Linked DNA regions of Homo sapiens: region 2 is linked to region 1. The links are contacts of gene promoters, found by promoter capture Hi-C in blood cells and fetal thymus (Javierre and others, 2016). All regions are on one chromosome and are shown on one strand. The core of a region is centred on a gene start or on the middle of the fragment in contact, and the rest is flanking DNA. Distances in the headings are between cores, read along the strand shown.

Region 1 (4,455 bases), core at 1,416-3,915:
TTTCAAGAGAAAACATTCCTTATCATCAGTGGCAATGGGAGTGTCTCACCAAAACTTTGCCCAATTACTCTTTAGCCTCAGGATTGATACTTCTGCATCTGTTCATCACCCTCTGTGGTTCTGGACCTGTCCACTCTTCCTGGCTGCCTTTCTTCTTGGTGGGTATGGAAGGAGTATGTGTGGGAGAGATGAGGAAGGAGGTGTTCCCGCCCTGCTTGGACACTGGGTGGTTGTGCTCAGAAGACTCACTCCTTGCCAGGCTGGAAGTAAACTTGAAGCAAAAGCTGGGGGATTTGAGAAGAGAAGGTAGACTGGCCTGGAAGTTGCATCAGGAGAAGCCAGAGGCTTTAAGCAAGCAAATGACCCCCTAGTTTCTCATCCCATAAACAAGCAACCATTACAGAAAGAGATTTTTGTTAAGAGAAGACTTTCACAGCCTTCCTCAATCATTCTGCATCCACCAAAACTCCCTGTATTTCTTAGGAGTTTGGAATACCTTTAAGTCATCCTTGTCTTAATGACTTTCTCACCTTTCAAATCTCAATTTTCATCTTCATCCCTTCTAGGTTCTTAGACACTATTAACCTCTTCTTCCTCTGTGCTTCCATCCATAGCACTTCCTTTATATGTCTGTTAGAACAGCCATCACATTCTATAATAATTTGCTGCCAAACTGTGATCTCCTTAATAGCTGGGACTAAGTCTTTTTGATCACTGCATCTTCAACACATATGGTCCACAACACACATGCAGTTTCCTGGCAAACCACATATACCTAACAAATGTTGATCTAAATTGTTGAAGGAAGATCTTCCCACCCTCTATCTTTTCCTTAAGCAGAGGGACTACACACATTCCTTCTCTTTTCCTTAAGGCTTTTCTTCACTACTTTTCTTTGTTACAAGGTTTCTTTAATTCTTAAGAGATTATTGTGCGCTTACACATGCGCATGCCCCGGAACAAGTCGTGCAGATTTACGCCCATTTCCATGTGCATCATGGGGTCTGTAGTCCTTCTACTTCTCCAGTCCTCTTCTAGAACTTTTCTGCTTCTTCCCTTAATTCCACGACCTGGGGACATGGTCAATAAGTTGCTTTTAGCTGGGCTTTTATTTATTTATTTGTTTAGTTTTTGAAATGGGGTCTTGCTTCATTGCCCAGGCTGGAGTGCAGTTGCGCCATCATGCCCCAAACTGCAGCCCCGACCTCCCTGGCTTAAGTGATCCTCCCACCTCAGCCTCTCGAGTAGCTGGGACTATAGGCACACACCATCATGCCCGACTAATTTTTAAACTTTTTGTACACACGTGATCTCATTATGTTGCCCAGGCTGGTTTCAAACGCCTGGGCTCAAGTGATCCTTCTGCCTCAGCCTTTGAAAGTGCTGAGATTACGGGCTTAAGTCACCTCTCCTGGTCCCTAGCTGAGCTTTTAGAGAGAAATTTTCCCTACACATTAAAAAGTGTCAGTCCAGTACTAGCCCTTTTCCTTACCTGTTGAGCCCTTATAATAATATGCCAGGCACTGTGTTGATTCATAATCTAGAGAGGCAGCCACTGCCTCAGGTGGATTCATTTATTCATTGGACATGCTCTGGAAACATATAACAAAGTATCTGATCTAGTTCTTGGTCAGGCGCAGCTTCCTTAAGGAATTGACATTCCTGCCAAATGCTCAAAGTTAAGTAGAAGGTGATGAGGGGAACATGGGTTATAAAAGAGCCCAAGAGAACCATGCATTTAAGTCCCTGAAGTGTGGGGGATGATGGGACGGATAAGATGTTCAAGGATCCTGAAGACCTTGCCAATAGTTGGAATGTGGAGCTGGGGGTGGAGTGACCCAGATGAGGTTGAAGTAAGCAGGGACAAAACAGGACAGAGCCTTGCTGTATGCTAAGTCTGCTTTAGTCAGGAATCTTTTGGTTGAAAGTGACAACGAACCCACTGAAGGAAAAAAAGGGGCTAAGAGTTCAGGGTTCTCATCTTTGGTCTCCTTTGTGTTAGCTTCTCTCTTGATCAGGCCTCTGTGAGTGGTCTCTGATCTCCCTAGTCACACAGAAGCCAACAGCTGGAGTCAAGAGAAGGGGGTGAGGAAGGCCGATGAATAGGGGCTACTTGTCTTTCCACTATTACCCTCAAGTCTACCTTCTTTGCAGGCAAGTCTAGACCTCCTCAGGTAGACCCTCAGTGGGAGGGCAGGAAGCTTAGCCTTTTAGACTCCAAAGCCGTTTGCTTTCTTAAAAATAGCAAACCCACAGCCCCCTATCTCTTTAAGGGGCTAAACACATTTTCTCTGCTGTATCCTCAGCCTACCTGGGGAGCAGGACCATTTGGGTTTGGTAAGAGAAAAAAGGAGGGCGAAAACCCCGGACACTCCTCCTGTCTCCCGACGCTCGTTCTGGCCGTCTGGCCCTCAGTACTAAGCAGGCCCTGACCTACTTGTCTTACTCTTGCTGCTTCTTCCCGCCGGGCCTCTTGCCCCTTCTCCGACCATGCTGCAGGTCCTGCCCCAACTTTAGGACTTCAGAACTCCTCCACCGTGCCGTGGAGGAACAGCCCTTCTTCCACCTCACGCACACCCTACCACGGCAGAACCAATCGAAGACTATCCCAGCCGGGGACCCCCCTTTTTTTTCCTGGGACCCAGCGTTTCCGCCTCCGGGGCGCAGACTCCTCCCCCTCACCGTCCCAATTGTATTCCCTGGAAGAGCAGCCGGAAAAGCCTCCGCCTGCTCATACCAGGATAGGCAAGAAGCTGGTTTCTCCTCGCAGCCGGCTCCCTGAGGCCCAGGAACCACCGCGGCGGCCGGCACCACCTGGACCCAGCTCCAGGCGGGCGCGGCTTCAGCACCACGGACAGCGCCCCACCCGCGGCCCTCCCCCCGGCGGCGCGCTCCAGCCGGTGTAGGCGAGGCAGCGAGCTATGCCCGCGGCATGGCCCGGCGCTGCGGCCCCGTGGCGCTGCTCCTTGGCTTCGGCCTCCTCCGGCTGTGCTCAGGTAAGGGAAAGACGGGCACTGGCCAGGTTCTCCTACCCCAGCCAACGGCCCAAGACTCGCCGCCCTCTGACTCACCCCTGCTAGGCCGGAAGGTGGAAGAAGGGATTCCCTAGAGGTGGGGGAGTCTGCTGGAGGTTAGGGGAGAGCCCCCCGGGACTGCAGAGAGCACCTGGGAGGCTGGACTGGGAACGAGACATACTCGAAGGAGTAAGTGAAGCAAGAAAGAGATGGAAACCTGGCCAGCGGTGGTAGGGGTGGTGCAGGCACAGAGAGCAAGGAGGCAGGGGATCTCCCCAGGCGTCCTGGGGTGGCAGGAGGCCGGCTCTGAGGGCGCTAAGATGCCATCTGACTTTTTGTGAAACATTATCTCAAGAAAGGTACCTGGACCAGCACCCCTCCCCGGGCTCCCCATCGTTTCCCATCCCCCACATTGGGCTCCAGATTCTCGTCACCCCTCAGGGGCAGAGAAGGGGAGAAAACGGAACGGACTTTTCAACCCTCCTGTAGGGTGGGACAGGAGGCTTGGAAGGGAAGAAGCTCTGCCAGGCTGAGGACTAGGAAGGAACTCTCTGAGGGGATGGGGAGGGGTGTGTTCGTGCAGAGTTGCAGAGGGGGATGCAGTGTGCCGGGGAGGGGCAGGTACAAAGGGAATGCACAACTGAATGAGCTTTCCACACCTACAGGCCACCTCTAGGGGTGGGCTGCTGTGTGTGTGAAACTTGGGGCTACATATATGCCTGACCCACAGCTTAGGCAGCCCAGCTATTCCACTCCAACCCAGTGCCTTTAGGGAGAGGGGAGGATGGCATCGTGACCACAGTCACATGTCATTACGTGAGGCACATAATGTCATTTGCACATGTAAATGGTGAACGGGAACAGTTATTTGTGTCCCACCACACATACACTTTCTCCTCAATCGGCAGGAGAAAGGATGTGTGTGGTGGGACACAAATAACTGGGACAAATAACTGTTCACCTTCACTGCCCTGCTAAACCTCCCTTGAGTCATAGGTATTTGCTGGGGAAGCCATGGAAGCAGAAATCTCAAACTGCCCTCTGAGACTTTGGGGGAAGAGCAGGTCTCCATGAATCCTTGCAGAGTGGGTTCTTAGTCTCAAGTCATCTCTGTGGAGCTGTGTAGACTCTTTGGTCAGTGGTCTCAGAGAGGGGCTTTTCTATGAAGACATTAATCTGGGGCCTCCCTGGGGTTAATCTAAGCATTTTGCAGTATCCTTAGGGATGTAGGGAGATACTGGTTGGGCCTGGATTGTCCCATTTGCCTGGGGAGGGTGGGATGCTGGGTGGGCTCTCCTTGCCTGCTTACTTTCGTCCTGCCTTTCCCCTGCCCAGGGGTGTGGGGTACGGATACAGAGGAGCGGCTGGTGGAGCATCTCCTGGATCCTTCCCGCTACAACAAGCTTATCCGCCCAGCCACCAATGGCTCTGAGCTGGTGAC
Region 2 (4,286 bases), core at 1,787-4,286, 490 kb after region 1:
CGGGGAAATGCTTTTGGGAGCTGTGGGCGCAACCCCAGTGGCAGTTATGTGTCCTGCACCCCTAGGTAAGTGAGGAAACCTGGCTCCTCCTTTGGGTTTCTGAGAGCCTTGGCCCTGCTCCTACTAACTCTGTGTGCCCTTCCCCCTCCCCACAGAGATGCCATTTGTGGGCAGCTCCAGTGCCAGACAGGTAGGACCCAGCCTCTGCTGGGCTCCATCCGGGATCTACTCTGGGAGACAATAGATGTGAATGGGACTGAGCTGAACTGCAGCTGGGTGCACCTGGACCTGGGCAGTGATGTGGCCCAGCCCCTCCTGACTCTGCCTGGCACAGCCTGTGGCCCTGGCCTGGTGAGCAGCCTGGGTGGGCAAGACCAGGTGTGAGAAGGGACATTTGGACCACAATGAACAGAGCCCAGACTTCACCATTCACCAATGTCAAAGGCAGGGACTCCAAGGGAAGTCAGTTTCTTACTTCAGATGGAGCAAAGTCCTATCAACTCACTATGCCTTGGTTTCCCCATCTGTAAACGCAGGGTATGGCCTCAACCTTATTGGCCTCCCAGTCCCATTAAAGCTTTGTGGGAATCTGATCCAGGCTCTTCTCTCCCTGGGTCAGGTGTGTATAGACCATCGATGCCAGCGTGTGGATCTCCTGGGGGCACAGGAATGTCGAAGCAAATGCCATGGACATGGGGTGAGCTGGGATGGGGGAAGTGGAAGGGGAGCAGAGAGCCTCTAGAGAGGAAAAGGATACTGGGCTTTGGAAATAGACATATCTGGGTTTTAATCCTTGCTCTACTACTTCCCAGTTGTGTGACCTCGGGCAGGTTACTAACTTTGCTGAGCTCAGTTTCCCCACCTATCAAATGGCTATAATAATAGTATCCCCATCCAGGGTACATGAGATGAGTATGAAAGCATCTAGCACAGGCTGGGCACAATGGCTCATGCCTATAATCACAGTTTTTTTGTTTGTTTGTTTGTTTTGTTTTGAGACAGAGTCTCGCTCTGTTGCCTAGGCTGGAGTGCGCTGGCGTGATCTCGGCTCACTGCAACCTCTGCCTCCCAGGCTCAAACATTACTCATGTCTCAGCCTCCCTACTCGCTGGGATTACAGTCACCCGCCACCATGCCCAGCTAATTTTTGTATTTTCAGTAGAGATGGGTTTCACCATGTTGGCCAGGCTAGTCTTGAACTTCTGACCTCAAGTGATCCTCCCGCCTCAGCCTCCCAAAGTGCTGGGATTATAGGGGTGAGCCACTGCACCCAGCCAAATCACAGTACTTTGGGAGGCCAAGGCAGGAGGATTACTTGAGGCCAGGAGTTCAAAACCAGCCTGGTCAACATAGTGAGACCCCCATCTCTTTCAAGGAAAAATTTAAAAATTATTCAGGCCTGCTGGTGCACACCTATGCTCCCAGCTACTTGGGAGGCTGAGGCAGGAGGACTGCTTGAGCCCAGGAGTTTGGGGCTGCAGTGAGCCATAATTGCACCACTGCACTCCAGCCTGGGCAACAGAGTGAGACTCCATCTTACTTGCTGTCTAAAATAAAATAAAATAAAACAAAACAAAACAAACACAAAGAAAGAAAGCATGTACCACAGTGCCCAGCACACAGAAGGAGCTCAGTAAGTGTTAGTTTGATCTAATTTGCTCTGGTATGGATAAAGACCCTCCCTCCGGGCTGTCTCTACACACATACCCAGCACAACCCCCAGTTGTAGAAATCTGAGATCTTGAAAAGCTAGAGACAAGGAAATAGTTCCAGAGTGCAGAGCTCCTCATTGCTCGCCTTGTACCTCCTAGGTCTGTGACAGCAACAGGCACTGCTACTGTGAGGAGGGCTGGGCACCCCCTGACTGCACCACTCAGCTCAAAGGTAGCATGGGGGTGGGGGACAGGGGCAGCTGGGAGGGCAAAGCGTCTCATGCTTTATCTTGCCCCCTCGGCCCTCTCTTTCTGACCCCCCTTTGCTGCTGGTTCCCTGAGTCTGTGCCCCTTGAACCCTTCACTCTCCCTGATCACTTGACTTCACTCCCTGCCCCCTGCGCCTTCATGGATCTAGAGTTCTTAGCCCCGTCCTCCCTTAAACCTGACTTCCGCCCACAGCAACCAGCTCCCTGACCACAGGGCTGCTCCTCAGCCTCCTGGTCTTATTGGTCCTGGTGATGCTTGGTGCCAGCTACTGGTACCGTGCCCGCCTGCACCAGCGACTCTGCCAGCTCAAGGGACCCACCTGCCAGTACAGGTATGAGCATCACCTCCCTGCTACCACTTCCTTCAACTGGGGACAGTGCTGAAGGCTGCCTCACCTCTGCAGCCCCTGCCACCTGGTTCTGAGCCCCAGGCCCCTTGGACCTTAAAGTTGCTGACTGCCATACCCCACACCTCCCTTCCCTATATGTGCCCACAGCTTTTTACCTCACAGCTGTGCCCCTGTGGGGTGGCTGGATTGCTAGGGCCATTTCTCCCCAGGAGCCCCTGTGCTGGATAAGTAGGGTCTTCCCTCAAGCTAATAAATACTGCCCCCCACCCCGGCCCTACCACAATTTTACCTAAACCACACATAAGTGCCTGCAAAGGGTTAACCCCACTCAGGGATGGCATATGGTAGAAAACAGGGTCTGAGGCTGGGCCCTCTCCCTTCTTGCCTTTCCTCATGCATAGGGCAGCCCAATCTGGTCCCTCTGAACGGCCAGGACCTCCGCAGAGGGCCCTGCTGGCACGAGGCACTAAGGTGAGTCCTGGATGCCAGAGGAAGGGGACTCCACCTTGGCCGGGCATCCAGCTTGGGCCCTGGGGGGTGCGCATTAAAGGCTCCAGACTCAGAGAAAGGCTAGCACTGCCCAAGAGTCAGTCGAAGGAGTCAGGGCCAGCCCTGCCCTCCCCTCCCCTGGCTACAGGCAGGGAAGCTGAGTCCAGAAGAGTGGGGAGGGCAGCCAGCTGGAGCAGGAGCTGCTGGGCTCCGTCCGCTGGCCAAGAGGTGGCTTTGAGAGGTGGATCTATCCATGCCCCCAGCAGTGACCCCAGGAGGGCACAAGGGCAGTGGTGCTCAGAATGGCCTTCCGTAGGCCCAGGTCACCATGTTAGAAGGGCTGGTGAGCATCCCCACCCTGAGCCCTCTGCTTGGATGATGGGAGTGTGTGCACACCTCCTCCCCACTCGCTCCCCACCTGCATGCACCTGCATAACTGCATGCACAGCACCCACTGCCCTGGGCCCCTGCTGGCCCCCCCTGGGCACTGACCCTTCCCTGCCCACTCTGTCTCTCTGCTTCCTCTTCCCCCTCTGTGCCTATCTGCCCCTCCTGCCCTCTCAGCAGGCTAGTGCTCTCAGCTTCCCGGCCCCCCCTTCCAGGCCGCTGCCGCCTGACCCTGTGTCCAAGAGACTCCAGGTAAATCTGGGCCAGGGCCCGCCCTGAGCCAAGGCAGGTGGGAGGCTTGGTACCCAACTGCAGTTCTCATCCCTGCTCCCTGCCAGTGGTGCTCTTCATTAGGTGATCGGGGTGCCCCTCAGCCTTCAGACACTCTGAGCCCCAGAAGCAGCAAAGGGTGAGCCTCCTGCCTTGGTTTCTACCACCATCTGGTGGTCAATGGCGGGACTGCAGTCGGCCAGGGACTGCGGTTGACCTACACCTTCCTCCCCTGAGACATCAGCTGGCATGCCTCCAAGCCCTCTGCGCATGCCCTCATTCTCTCCTGCCCCCTGGCTGACTTTGCATGTTGACTTGAACCCCTCTGGGGAATCTCTGTGCATGTCCACAGCCCCTGGTTATGCTCTCACAGCCACTGCCCCTCTCTCTGTTCAGGCTGAGCTGGCTGACCGACCCAATCCCCCTACCCGCCCTCTGCCCGCTGACCCGGTGGTGAGAAGCCCGAAGGTAACGGTGGGGGGAGAGAAGGGCACGGCCTCTCCCCCCACCTAGGGCTGTGGTGCTGGTAGCCATGACGGTGGTGGCCGTGGCGAGATGCCCCCTCAGTGCATGAGGGCACATATCCCGGTGGTGCCTTTAATGGTGACAGGTTTGTTTGCAGACAAGGGTGACCGCTGGTGCTGCCCCCAAGCTGGTGTTCCCCAGCACCAGTGCGTTGGGGGTGGGCAACATGACACCCCCCCACCTAAGCCGGCCTCCTGCCTTCTCTCCCTCAGTCTCAGGGGCCAGCCAAGCCCCCACCCCCAAGGAAGCCACTGCCTGCCGACCCCCAGGGCCGGTGCCCATCGGGTGACCTGCCCGGCCCAGGGGCTGGAATCCCGCCCCTAGTGGTACCCTCCAGGTAGGAG

Evidence for each region. The method cuts DNA at HindIII sites, captures the fragments that hold promoters and counts their contacts. A CHiCAGO score of 5 or more calls a contact.
Region 2: a contact is called between a fragment that was not itself captured here and the fragment with the promoter of CHRNB2 in region 1, in 14 of 17 cell types (naive B cells, total B cells, fetal thymus and 11 more). The highest score is 15.7, in naive B cells.

Annotation. Positions count from the first base shown.
Region 1 is chr1:154,565,113-154,569,567 of GRCh38, forward strand. CHRNB2 (cholinergic receptor nicotinic beta 2 subunit) reads left to right here and starts at 2,666. Exons shown (of 6, transcript NM_000748.3): 1 at 2,666-2,996; 2 at 4,350-4,455. The coding sequence starts at 2,933. It overlaps LOC107985206 (a long non-coding RNA gene), which reads right to left and starts at 2,605. Exons shown (of 2, transcript XR_001738238.3): 1 at 2,312-2,605; 2 at 1-1,070. RefSeq lists a silencer at 2,837-2,966. The HindIII fragment of the contact is 2,216 bases long and covers 2,200-4,415 here.
Region 2 is chr1:155,058,091-155,062,376 of GRCh38, forward strand. It overlaps ADAM15 (ADAM metallopeptidase domain 15), which reads left to right. Exons shown (of 23, transcript NM_207197.3): 14 at 1-65; 15 at 156-351; 16 at 620-697; 17 at 1,812-1,884; 18 at 2,115-2,253; 19 at 2,673-2,742; 20 at 3,325-3,399; 21 at 3,814-3,885; 22 at 4,155-4,279. The region is part of intron 1 of DCST1-AS1 (DCST1 antisense RNA 1); the gene reads right to left. It overlaps ADAM15-EFNA4 (ADAM15-EFNA4 readthrough), which reads left to right. Exons shown (of 26, transcript NR_176418.1): 14 at 1-65; 15 at 156-351; 16 at 620-697; 17 at 1,812-1,884; 18 at 2,115-2,253; 19 at 2,673-2,742; 20 at 4,155-4,279. Among named protein-coding and RNA genes, the nearest start is that of EFNA4, 3.5 kb to the right of the region's middle. The HindIII fragment of the contact is 4,923 bases long and covers 576-4,286 here.